2 separate regions of the Homo sapiens genome follow, and region 2 is linked to region 1. The links are contacts of gene promoters, found by promoter capture Hi-C in blood cells and fetal thymus (Javierre and others, 2016). All regions are on one chromosome and are shown on one strand. The core of a region is centred on a gene start or on the middle of the fragment in contact, and the rest is flanking DNA. Distances in the headings are between cores, read along the strand shown. Region 1 has its middle 72 kb from the start of IGLL5. Region 2 holds the start of PPM1F-AS1 (PPM1F antisense RNA 1).

The links. The method cuts DNA at HindIII sites, captures the fragments that hold promoters and counts their contacts. A CHiCAGO score of 5 or more calls a contact.
Region 2: a contact is called between the fragment with the promoter of PPM1F-AS1 here and a fragment that was not itself captured in region 1, in 1 of 17 cell types (total B cells). The highest score is 5.8, in total B cells.

Annotation. Positions count from the first base shown.
Region 1 is chr22:22,957,518-22,962,319 of GRCh38, forward strand. No RefSeq gene overlaps it. Among named protein-coding and RNA genes, the nearest start is that of IGLL5, 72 kb to the left of the region's middle. The HindIII fragment of the contact is 1,860 bases long and covers 1,141-3,000 here.
Region 2 is chr22:21,935,330-21,940,131 of GRCh38, forward strand. It overlaps PPM1F-AS1 (PPM1F antisense RNA 1), which reads left to right and starts at 2,908. Exons shown (of 2, transcript NR_147620.1): 1 at 2,908-4,284. It overlaps PPM1F (protein phosphatase, Mg2+/Mn2+ dependent 1F), which reads right to left. Exons shown (of 8, transcript NM_014634.4): 3 at 4,203-4,351. RefSeq lists enhancers at 2,525-3,331, 3,332-4,139, 4,140-4,802 and a silencer at 2,883-3,042. The HindIII fragment of the contact is 1,993 bases long and covers 1,643-3,635 here.

The DNA of each region.
Region 1 (4,802 bases), core at 821-3,320:
CACTCTTTATAGTTTAACAACTCTGAAAAAATCCCTGTTCAAATTACTGGTGTGGTTTGCCTCCTGAGTCTACCCTGGTTGACACAATATCTCAGCATCAAAAGATGGCATGGAAATGAAGGTCATCTCCGAACTGCTACTATGATAGACCTTCAATCAAATGAAGTCAAATGAAGCCTTCAGGCATTCATCTTGCAGAATGCAAACAGTCAGCTGCCACAGGGAACTGCAGAAGGCAAGCGTTGTGACCAAACCATAAATGCTGGTCAGCCCCATCTAAATCAGGTTAAAATGGGGATAGATATCAGCCAGTGAGAACACAGGCAGCTTTCTTTGGAATGGCCACTTCGGGGGTGGTGGGTGAGCAAAGAATGGATGCAGATGCTCTCTCCTCTCCAAGGAGCAATGTGGACTTCAAAGCCCACAAAGATTCGTGAGATTTATTCCTAGAATAAGTACCCTAGAGAAGCCCGCCCAGCAGAGTATAAAAGAAATCAAGAATTTCCGGTGGACCCAGAACGTGTCACAGCTTGGGGCCAAATAAATTACACTCCTGCAAATGCCTCGGGCCTAGCTCCAGTAAAAAGTGACAGGACAGCCATGTGTCCAAAAGCTAGTGCATTGCACAGCAAGGAGGAAACCAATTTCCTTTAGCCTTTGCTCCCCTAGAGACGTCATATGACCAGAGTGAGGTTGGACACTCAGCTCTCTATCTTTTCAAATAATTCCCCATCTCCAAGTTCATGGAAAGAGAGAAAACCATCATGTCACCATAGCGATGACTCCTCTAATGATGGTTCAGAGTGGAAAACTTCTGACTTCAAGGATGGCCTCATACAGGATGGACGTGAATGCTGGTCCTCAAAACCCCAATGTCACATTTTTAAAAATCTGACCATCCCTCAGTCAGTGTCAGGGGTTTTCATGTGGGAAACCTCAAAGAAGGTGAGAAGGCAGGGGAGGTGTAACCCACAGTAATTATTAATAAAACCAACATTCCAGGACAAACTACTGCTAAGGAGGTTGAATTTTTTTTCTAAATGATCCTTCACAAGTAAAATAAGGAACTGGAGTCCTTGGACTGATCGCTATATTATGCTAAATGGATGACAGAATACAGCTCAGGAGTCAAAGATCATAAGCTTCCAAGTGGCCACAGGGACAATAAGCCTTTCAGCCCTTGGGTAATAAAGTCAGACAATCTGGTCCAGCAGCCAGAAGATGGCTGAGCTGGAGGAACATCGATGATGGGACAGTCCCAGCGTCCGCCCTCTCTGCTGGAAGGACATTAGCTGCTGAGAATAACTGGATCCAAATTGTTAACGTGACCCCCCACTGCTCATGGGGATGAAGAAAAAGATCTGGGGTGATTGGAACCTTACAAAGCAGGGACACAGATGCTTTATGTCTTTCGAAGGTCTAGTTGTAAAAACAAGACCCGAAAGCAGCCTCTCGGTCTTTTCACTGCTGGCCAGCAAAACTGGGAGAGGACTATGTTGTGATGTCCCCAGGATATCCTTCATGATTGCCACCAAGATCTGCTGGGATAGGTGCCCAAGACCTGGAAGGAACACTAAACTAGAGACCCAGGGATGCACACACCTTGCATGTTCTCACAATGAGGCTAAACCAGACTCATCACCGAAGAAATGCCAGCCAACAGCCTGTGGACATGGATGCAGATTGACTATTCCAGCCCCTCAGTGAACAAGCTCCAAGTGTGTTTCCTTGTAAAGCAGTTATACAGGTCAAAAATCACTTCATCACAAATGAAATACGGTCAAACTACCACAAAACACAGGGCTAAAATATCTCATCACCGGAGGGTGCCAGAGACCACCAAATATAATCCAGATTCAAGGCAGTCCATGTGAAAATTGCCCACCAGGTGGCGGAAATGCAGGGAGACGGCCAGCATGTACAGATAATTTGTTTCCCGGGTCCACACATTATCTGATGAGAGTGAATCTGACCCTAGAAGAGAACTACACAACTACTTGGTTGCATTAGGGTTCAACAAGACTGTGCACGCTCCAAAAATTCTCAAAAAGGTCAAATCCAAGTAACAAGGGTTTTAGCCTATGAACCAAGGTGTGGCTAGAGAAAAGATTGTTTGAATTTGAAAAGAAGCTAGGAGGTTGACTCACTGGGGCATCTATCCTTGAGTCTTCCTGCAGTGGGAGGCAGAGTGAGCGGTCAGCTGGGCATCCACATCTAGAGTGTTGAAAACCTCCTGGGGGTGGAGACGGGGGACTTCCACTTCCAGAATGGGCAATTGTGTGTGTGTATAAAATATTTAAGATATATGTATTTATTTAAAGTCTCTAGAAATGGCCTTAGGGCATACAGCAAATAAAAAAACATTTAATTCAAGAACATCTATTAAAACCTGGCAAGAAATGGGAGGGTCTGTGGCATTTCAACCACGACCTGCTCCATTCCTCCCACTGCCAGCAAAATGTGACAGAAACTCCACTCCAGGTGGGTACAGCCAAGGACACAGCACTGTCTCCACCCAGCTCCCAGTCAAGGGCTATGGTATTTTCCCAAGAAGGAAAATCCATCAGCATTTTTCTTCCCACCCCAGCTACCTGTTGCAGAGACTAAATTCCAGGTGATTGTAGTAATCGGTTGAGGCTCTCTTCTTTTGCTCAGCCCCTACTTGTGGGACAAAAGCCCTGCCTTGGGTGCAACACACTGAGAATACTGGCACCATCAACCAGCTCATTTGTAAAGTAGAGGTTCCATGCTATGAGAAGCAAGCTGGGAATACAATAGACTCTCCAATAAGCACCCACCTCCTAAAGCAGGGGTGTCACTCAGAAAGTAGCTACCTACCACTGTCCCCACCCAGCCCCAGAGCCATAGCCAAAAGCTCCTGAAACATTTCCCCAAGAGGAAAGGCAGGACATAGAGAGCTCTAAAGCCCTTCCCGAATGAACTGACTTTATTTGCAAATGAGTACAAAGTTCAACATTAAGGGGACTTTCAAAACAATGAAGCTTGGGCAAAAAGCAATTGAGAGGAAACTGGTAAGTTCATTAGTGACATAAACTAGACCATAGGCCAGCTAGTTTATCAGAGAGAACCAGGAAAAGACATGGCTAAAAACAGACCTCTTGGGGTCAAAGCAAACCTCAAACACTGACCTCAAAAACTATCCCTGCAAATGAGCCTCAGTTTAATTGGATAAGTCATCTCAATAAAGGTGTTTTTTAAAGAAAAAAAACAGCAATAACAATTATACATTCTGGTCAACATGGAGTAACAGGAGCTGGATTTATTTTTAGGCCTGGAATAATTTTAAAAACAACACAAAATATTTAAGTCACTGGACATCAGGCAATGAAAGATAGTGGTTTATAAGAGATGAGAAATGAATAAGATGAGCCCCACGATTGCCCCAGATTACTGCATGGAGAGTTTCCAGTCTGAGGCTCAAGGAGGAGAGAACGTAACCACAGCCCACTGGCCTCCCCGAGTTGAAGAAACAGAGCTGCTTGGGATCCCAGGCCGCTGGAGTTCATAGGGCAGAGTACCAAAGAGGAGGGAGCTTAACAGAAAGAGAACTCTGCAAATACGAGAGTGTAAGTATTATACTGAGTAGTGATCAGTGTATGCATATGAGGAATGTACCTGAGGCCAAGAAAAAGACTACCCAAAAGCATTGAACAGAACAATCCCCAGAGAAAATTCAGGGCTGAAAATAATGCCTGACCTCATCAACAAGTACAGAAAATCTCATAATTCATTAAGCATCAGGTAGAGTACTCAGAGGAGTCTTCCTGATCTGTGGACAAAATTAACCATAGACTTAATGCTGTTGTGGTCTCATGTAAAAATGTTAAAAGAAAGCTGGGGATAGATTAAACTGTTTCAAAATAATTTAACTGTGTACCAGAACACAACTTAAGAATACAAAAATATCTAGCACCTGCAAAGATAAAATGCACAATGTCTAGCATTCAACTACAAATTAACATGCAGGCAAAGAAGTGGAAGAATATGATCCATAGTTAGGAAAATATCAGCCAGTCAAAGCTGATCCAAAATTGACATAGGTAATAAATAGATAAGGTCATTAAAGCAGTTATTATAATACTATTCCATATGTATAAGGAACTAGAGGAAGGATTAAACATTTTTGGCGAATGCACAGAAGGTTTTTTCTAAAACCAAATTAAACTTATAGAAAACAATGTGATGAAAAATACACTAGATGGAATTAATGACAGATTAGAAACTGCAGAAGAAAAGATTAGTGAACTTGAAGGCAGAGCAGTAGAAATTATACAAAATTATCAGAGGGTTAAAGGACTAAAAAAATAAAGAGAACATCAGTGACCTGTGAGATAAATGCCAGTGGTAAAATATATATGTGGTTAAAGTCTCTGAAAAAGAAGAGGGGATTTGAAAAAATAATGACAGAAAATTTTCTTAATGTGATGAAAACTGTATACCTACGGATTAAAAAAGTTCAACCAACCGTAATCACAAAAACATGAAGAAAACCATACCAAGTCACACTATGATCATCAAATTTCTTAAACCAACTCATCTAAGAGAAAATTTTAAGTGGCCAGAAGAAAAAAAATACATTATATGCAGAAGAACAAAGAAAAGGATGACAGCAGATTTCTCAGAAAAACAATGCAAGTGGCCAGGTACAGTGGCTCATGCCAGTAATCCCACCACTTTGGGAGGCCGAGATGAGAGGATAACTTGAGGCCAGGAGTTCAAGACCAACCTGGGCAACATAGCGAGACCCTGTCTCTACAAAAAAAAAATTTTTTTAATTAGCT
Region 2 (4,802 bases), core at 1,658-4,157, 1.0 Mb before region 1:
TGGTTAGGGATGGGGTCTGTAGGGGTGGGGGTATAAGGGTGGCCTTAAAAGGGTGACAGGAGGGATCCTGGTGATGGAACTGCTCTGTATTTTGACCATGTTAGGATCCTGGTGGTGATATTTTATTATAGTTTTGCAAAATGTTACCATTGGAGGAAACTGGGTAAAGTATACATGGAATCTCTTTGTATTATTTATTACAACTGCATGTGCAGCTATGATTATCTCAAAACAAAAAGTTTAATTAAAAAAAACTAGCCCAGGCATAGTGGCTCATGCCTGTAATCCCAGCACTTTGAGAGGCTGAGGTGGGAGGACTGCTTGAGGTCAGGAGTTCAAGACCAGCCTGGATAACATAAAGAGACCTTGTCTCTTAAAAACAAACAGGCTGGGCGCCATGGCTCATGCCTGTAGTCCCGCGCTTTGAGAGGTAAAGGCAGGCAGATCACTTGAGGTCCGGAGTTCGAGACCACCCTGACCAACAAAGTGAAACCCCGTCTCTACTAAAAATACAAAAATTAGCTGGGCGTGCTGGCATGCACATGTAGTCCCAGCTACTTGGGAGGCTGAGGCAGGAAAATTGCTTGAATCCGGGAGGCAGAGGTTGCAGTGAGCCAAGATTGAGCCACTACACTCCAGCCTGGACAACAGAGCGAAACTCAGTCGCAAATGAACAACACCAAACCAAAAAAAATTAGCTGTGTGTGGTGGTATATCTACTCCCAGCTATTCGGGAGGCTGGGGCAGGAGGATCCCTTGAGCCAAGGACGTCGAGGTTACGGCGATCTCCGATTACACCACTGCATTCCAGTCTGGGTGACAGAGGGAGACCTGGTCTCTTAAAACAGAAAACTAAAAAATGGATTTTAATAGAGTTTATAAGCATGTAAAATGCTTCTGTCATGATACTAAGTGAAAAAAGAAGGAAAATTACATATGCAGTTTAACTACAAGTCCATGAAAAACCACCAGGGCCAGAAAAAAAAAAAGGCGGGAACAGCACACAACCAAGGTGTCAGAGTGGGCCTGCACGTGGCAGTTCCACGGACAGCTTTTTCCTGAAGTACACTTTCTTAATACTTCCCCAGTTTTTCATTACAAGTGTTAGTCTCGTGTGACAGTGGCTTTAAAGCATGTCCACAAATTCTTTGACTTCCCCTTTTGCGAGGTGGAGCTCACTTCCCACTGCTGAGTGTGGGAGCTGGCTGCTTCTGATGAAGAGTGGCAGTGACTGCGTGTGCTTCAGGTGTTACGAAACAAAGAGGCCCTGCGCCTCCCGCCTTGTGTATTCTCACTCTCTTCCTCCCTCCCTCTCATCGCTCAATCTGAGCTGTGAGGATGCTCAAGCAGCGCCACGGAGAGTCCACATGGGACGGGACCAGGGCCTCCTGTCAGTGGCCGTGTGTTGAAACCACCGTGGAAGCAGGCCCTCCAGCCCAGCCAGCAACCATGTCACCACAACCCAGTAAGAGACCCTGGACCAGAACCAGCTAAGCTGCTCCCAGATTCCAGACCCACAGAAACTGGGAGAATAAATGTCTGTTGTTTTAAGCCACTACATTTGGGGCAATTTGTTATGTAGCAACAAATAATATAAGCCACAATACTCATTTGAAAAGAAAAAATACCCAAATCCTACCTAAGCTTGGCTTCTCAAGAAAAGATCAACCAGTAACAGGCCCAAAGGAAACCATGGGGGCTCTGGCTTCAGGGACTCATGTCACTTCAATGCACAAACTCTCCTGGAACTCCTGCCAGCCCAGGTGCATGTGGCAAGCATGGTGAATCAGGGCCAGTCAGCCGAGGGCAGGAGTTGAGTGTCACAGGCCACACCCAAAGGACATGGGGAACTGAGAGGAGGAAAGAGCTCCTGCCTAAAGGCGGAGGCTGTGGAAGAAAAGGAGAAGGGCTGAGGCCAGAGGGGGCCACCGAGGAAGAACCATGAACGCGAGGGCTTATGCACGCAGGAGGTCACAGAAAGACAGGTTCTTGGGAATCCATGCATCAAGGCAGGGGTGGGGGCATCCAGAGCCAGCTGCTGCCGCCATGGCCAACACAGGGGCCTATTCAAGCATTTGGCAAGAACTGGGGACTGGCAAGGCTATGGGTGAAGGAGGGGCCTGAGAACTCATTCAGGCAGGCCCAGCTCAGGGAAGGCAGCTCCACACAAGTTTGGCCAGTGGATCCCCTGCAAACCAGCAGGAAACCCCCCTCGTCCTGCCAGTCCTTGTAGCGCTGCCTCCTCTTCCTCTCGTCTGAGGGCCACTGTGCCCAGAAAACTGCCCCTAAATGCCATGGACTCCTCCTCACTCCCTCTGGAAACTGTGGGCTCCTGGTGCTTACCAGGCCTGAGCTCGGGCTGGGGGAGACTCCGGCCGCCGCTGTGGCTCACGGTCTCGCCCCGGGTGCTACTGCTATTTCCAACAGCCGCTTAGCCTAGACTCTGCTCAGGAAAGGCCAGCGGCTGAGGCAGTGCTGCCCAGCCCACGGACTCCCCATGCCAAGGGCTGCAGCCCCGCAACCTCGCTTCTGGATTCTTCGCTGATCCAGTCACCGGGGAGGGGCTGACTGGCAGCCACACAGAGGTTTCAGCCACTCGCTGCTCTTCAGTGGCAATTCTTATAATACAATCCCCACTCTGACGCAATTTTGTAAGAATGGCTTGGAGTCCAAAAACTTGACTACATTCTACTTCCGTGACAGGGAGAGCATGATCAAGGCCGCTAGGCAGGCCTGCATGCGAGGCACTCTGACAGACGGGGAAGCAAGGGCAGGCGAGACTTCCTTCTAGCTGCGCCCTCCCTCCTTCCCAGGCCTGCAGGAGCCCCGAGCGTAGGACTGGGCTGGTGCCGGCGCAGCAACGCTCCTTCTCACCGGCAGGTGGCGCTGTCTCCCGCGTGGACGGACAGAGACCCATCAGGCGGGGAGGGCCTGGGCGGTGGCGGCGCCCCCTTGGTGGGGCCGCAGAGCGGAGGAGCAGCAGCTGCCACCGGCCGGAAGCCTGCTGGCTCGGCCGAGAACAATGGCCGCCTGTCACTGTGGACAGCTGTCTCCCAGGCTAAGGCAAGGCTGCGCTCCCAGGGAATGCGGGCAGGGAGCCAGGGCGGAGGGCAGAGGACGAGAGCGAGGAGGAGAGCGCGGGCACCCACTGATGCTGGCGGCCTCGGGTATTCGCTTTCTCTCTCTTCTCCCACCTTGTTCCTTTTCCCCGGATGCACGCATGCACTAGTAATGCCGAATTTAGAACAACAGGGAAAGGAAAGGAAATGGCAAAGGAAGGGAAAGGAAATGGCCGACAGGAAATGGCAAGGAAGGGAAAATCCACTGCAACTCTGCTGCCTGCTGGCCTGTCCAGGGACAACTATTCAGCTGGGTGGGACGTTGCTACCCCCTTGTGGCACCCCTGCTGCAGCCTGCGATTCTTACGCCCTGTATTTCTGGTCTAACATCAACCAACACTTTGGCGAAATATAATAAAATGAAATTACTAGGAGAATGAAAGAAAGTCACATGAAATAAAAGCCCTGCTTTTTAATGATTATATCCTCTGTGAAATGGATCTGCAGCCCTCTCCATTTCTGGGTTCCCCTGGCCACACCATGCTTATGGCTGTCCCAGGAGCAGGCTGACAGACAAGCTTCCACCAGCATCTAACCATGGGGCTCATGGACACCGTAGAGCGTCTCCACCCAACAGAATCCTGACTTGGGGGCAGCTGAGGCAGGGGGCCCGAGCGTTGAGGGGACCACGCTGCTGCCCCGAGACCTGCTGGCATGCCACCTGGCCAACCCTGACTTCGCCTGCCCGGGCGCATGTTAACTGAGTTACAACACTGAGGGCACTTGAACCTGGCTGCATGACCAGAGATCGATCACCTGTGAGATCCTCTGTGAAACGGGATAAGCATCTTTAATTTCCTGGGCTGTTCTGGAACTTCAGTCAGACAGGACACAGGAGGGTGTCTGCACCACCCACCCCTGCCTCGTGGGCTGACTGGGAACTATATGACCTGTGGAGGGCTGTGACCGCCACCCTCCACCTCACTGGGGCCGCAAGCCTTCTCTGCTCCTTGATTCTGCTGCCGTTGTGAGCGAGGGCCCCAGCACCCTTAGGGACCCCAATCAATGGGCTTCCCACAATGTCGTCACCCTTTGTTGCCTGCTAAGCAGCCCTGGGGCCACCTCAGAAGAAACAGAACTCACAGGTCACAGGGGCCTTTTCCTCCTCGTCATCGTCCTCCTCCTCTTCTTCTTCCTCCCTGGGCAACTTCCTGAATTCGGAAAGGTCTGTCTGTAGCAGCTGTGAAACTGCTTCGTGGGCCAGAGCAGCAGCAAGTGGTGGCGGGGCCTTCCTAGGGATGAGGAGGGGGAAGTGAGGGGCAGCCCCCAGCAGGAGACCACACCTAGCCCCCCTTCCCCAACTGTCAGCCCACATGCTGAGGGGTCACGGCCAGCAGGGCGGCCCCTGTCCTCAGGGAGCTGGGACAGGAAGGTCACAGGACAGCAAAGGCAGACGCACAACCATCTGGTGGGGAGCTGGACCATACTTGAGCCTGCGGCTAGTTGGGAGGGGGCTGTTGATGGGCAAGTAAACTGCCTGACATCCATGCTGATGATGGCTCCTGGCCACAGGAGGGCAGAGGAATCACCCATGCCAGCTGGGGACCCTGGGGGGTGGGGAGTGTTCTGGGTTGAATTGTGTCCCCCCTAAATTCATACACTGAGGCCCTAACCCCCAGTACCTCAGAATGGAGCTCATTTGGAAACAGGGTCATTACAGATGGAATTAGTTAAGATGACGTC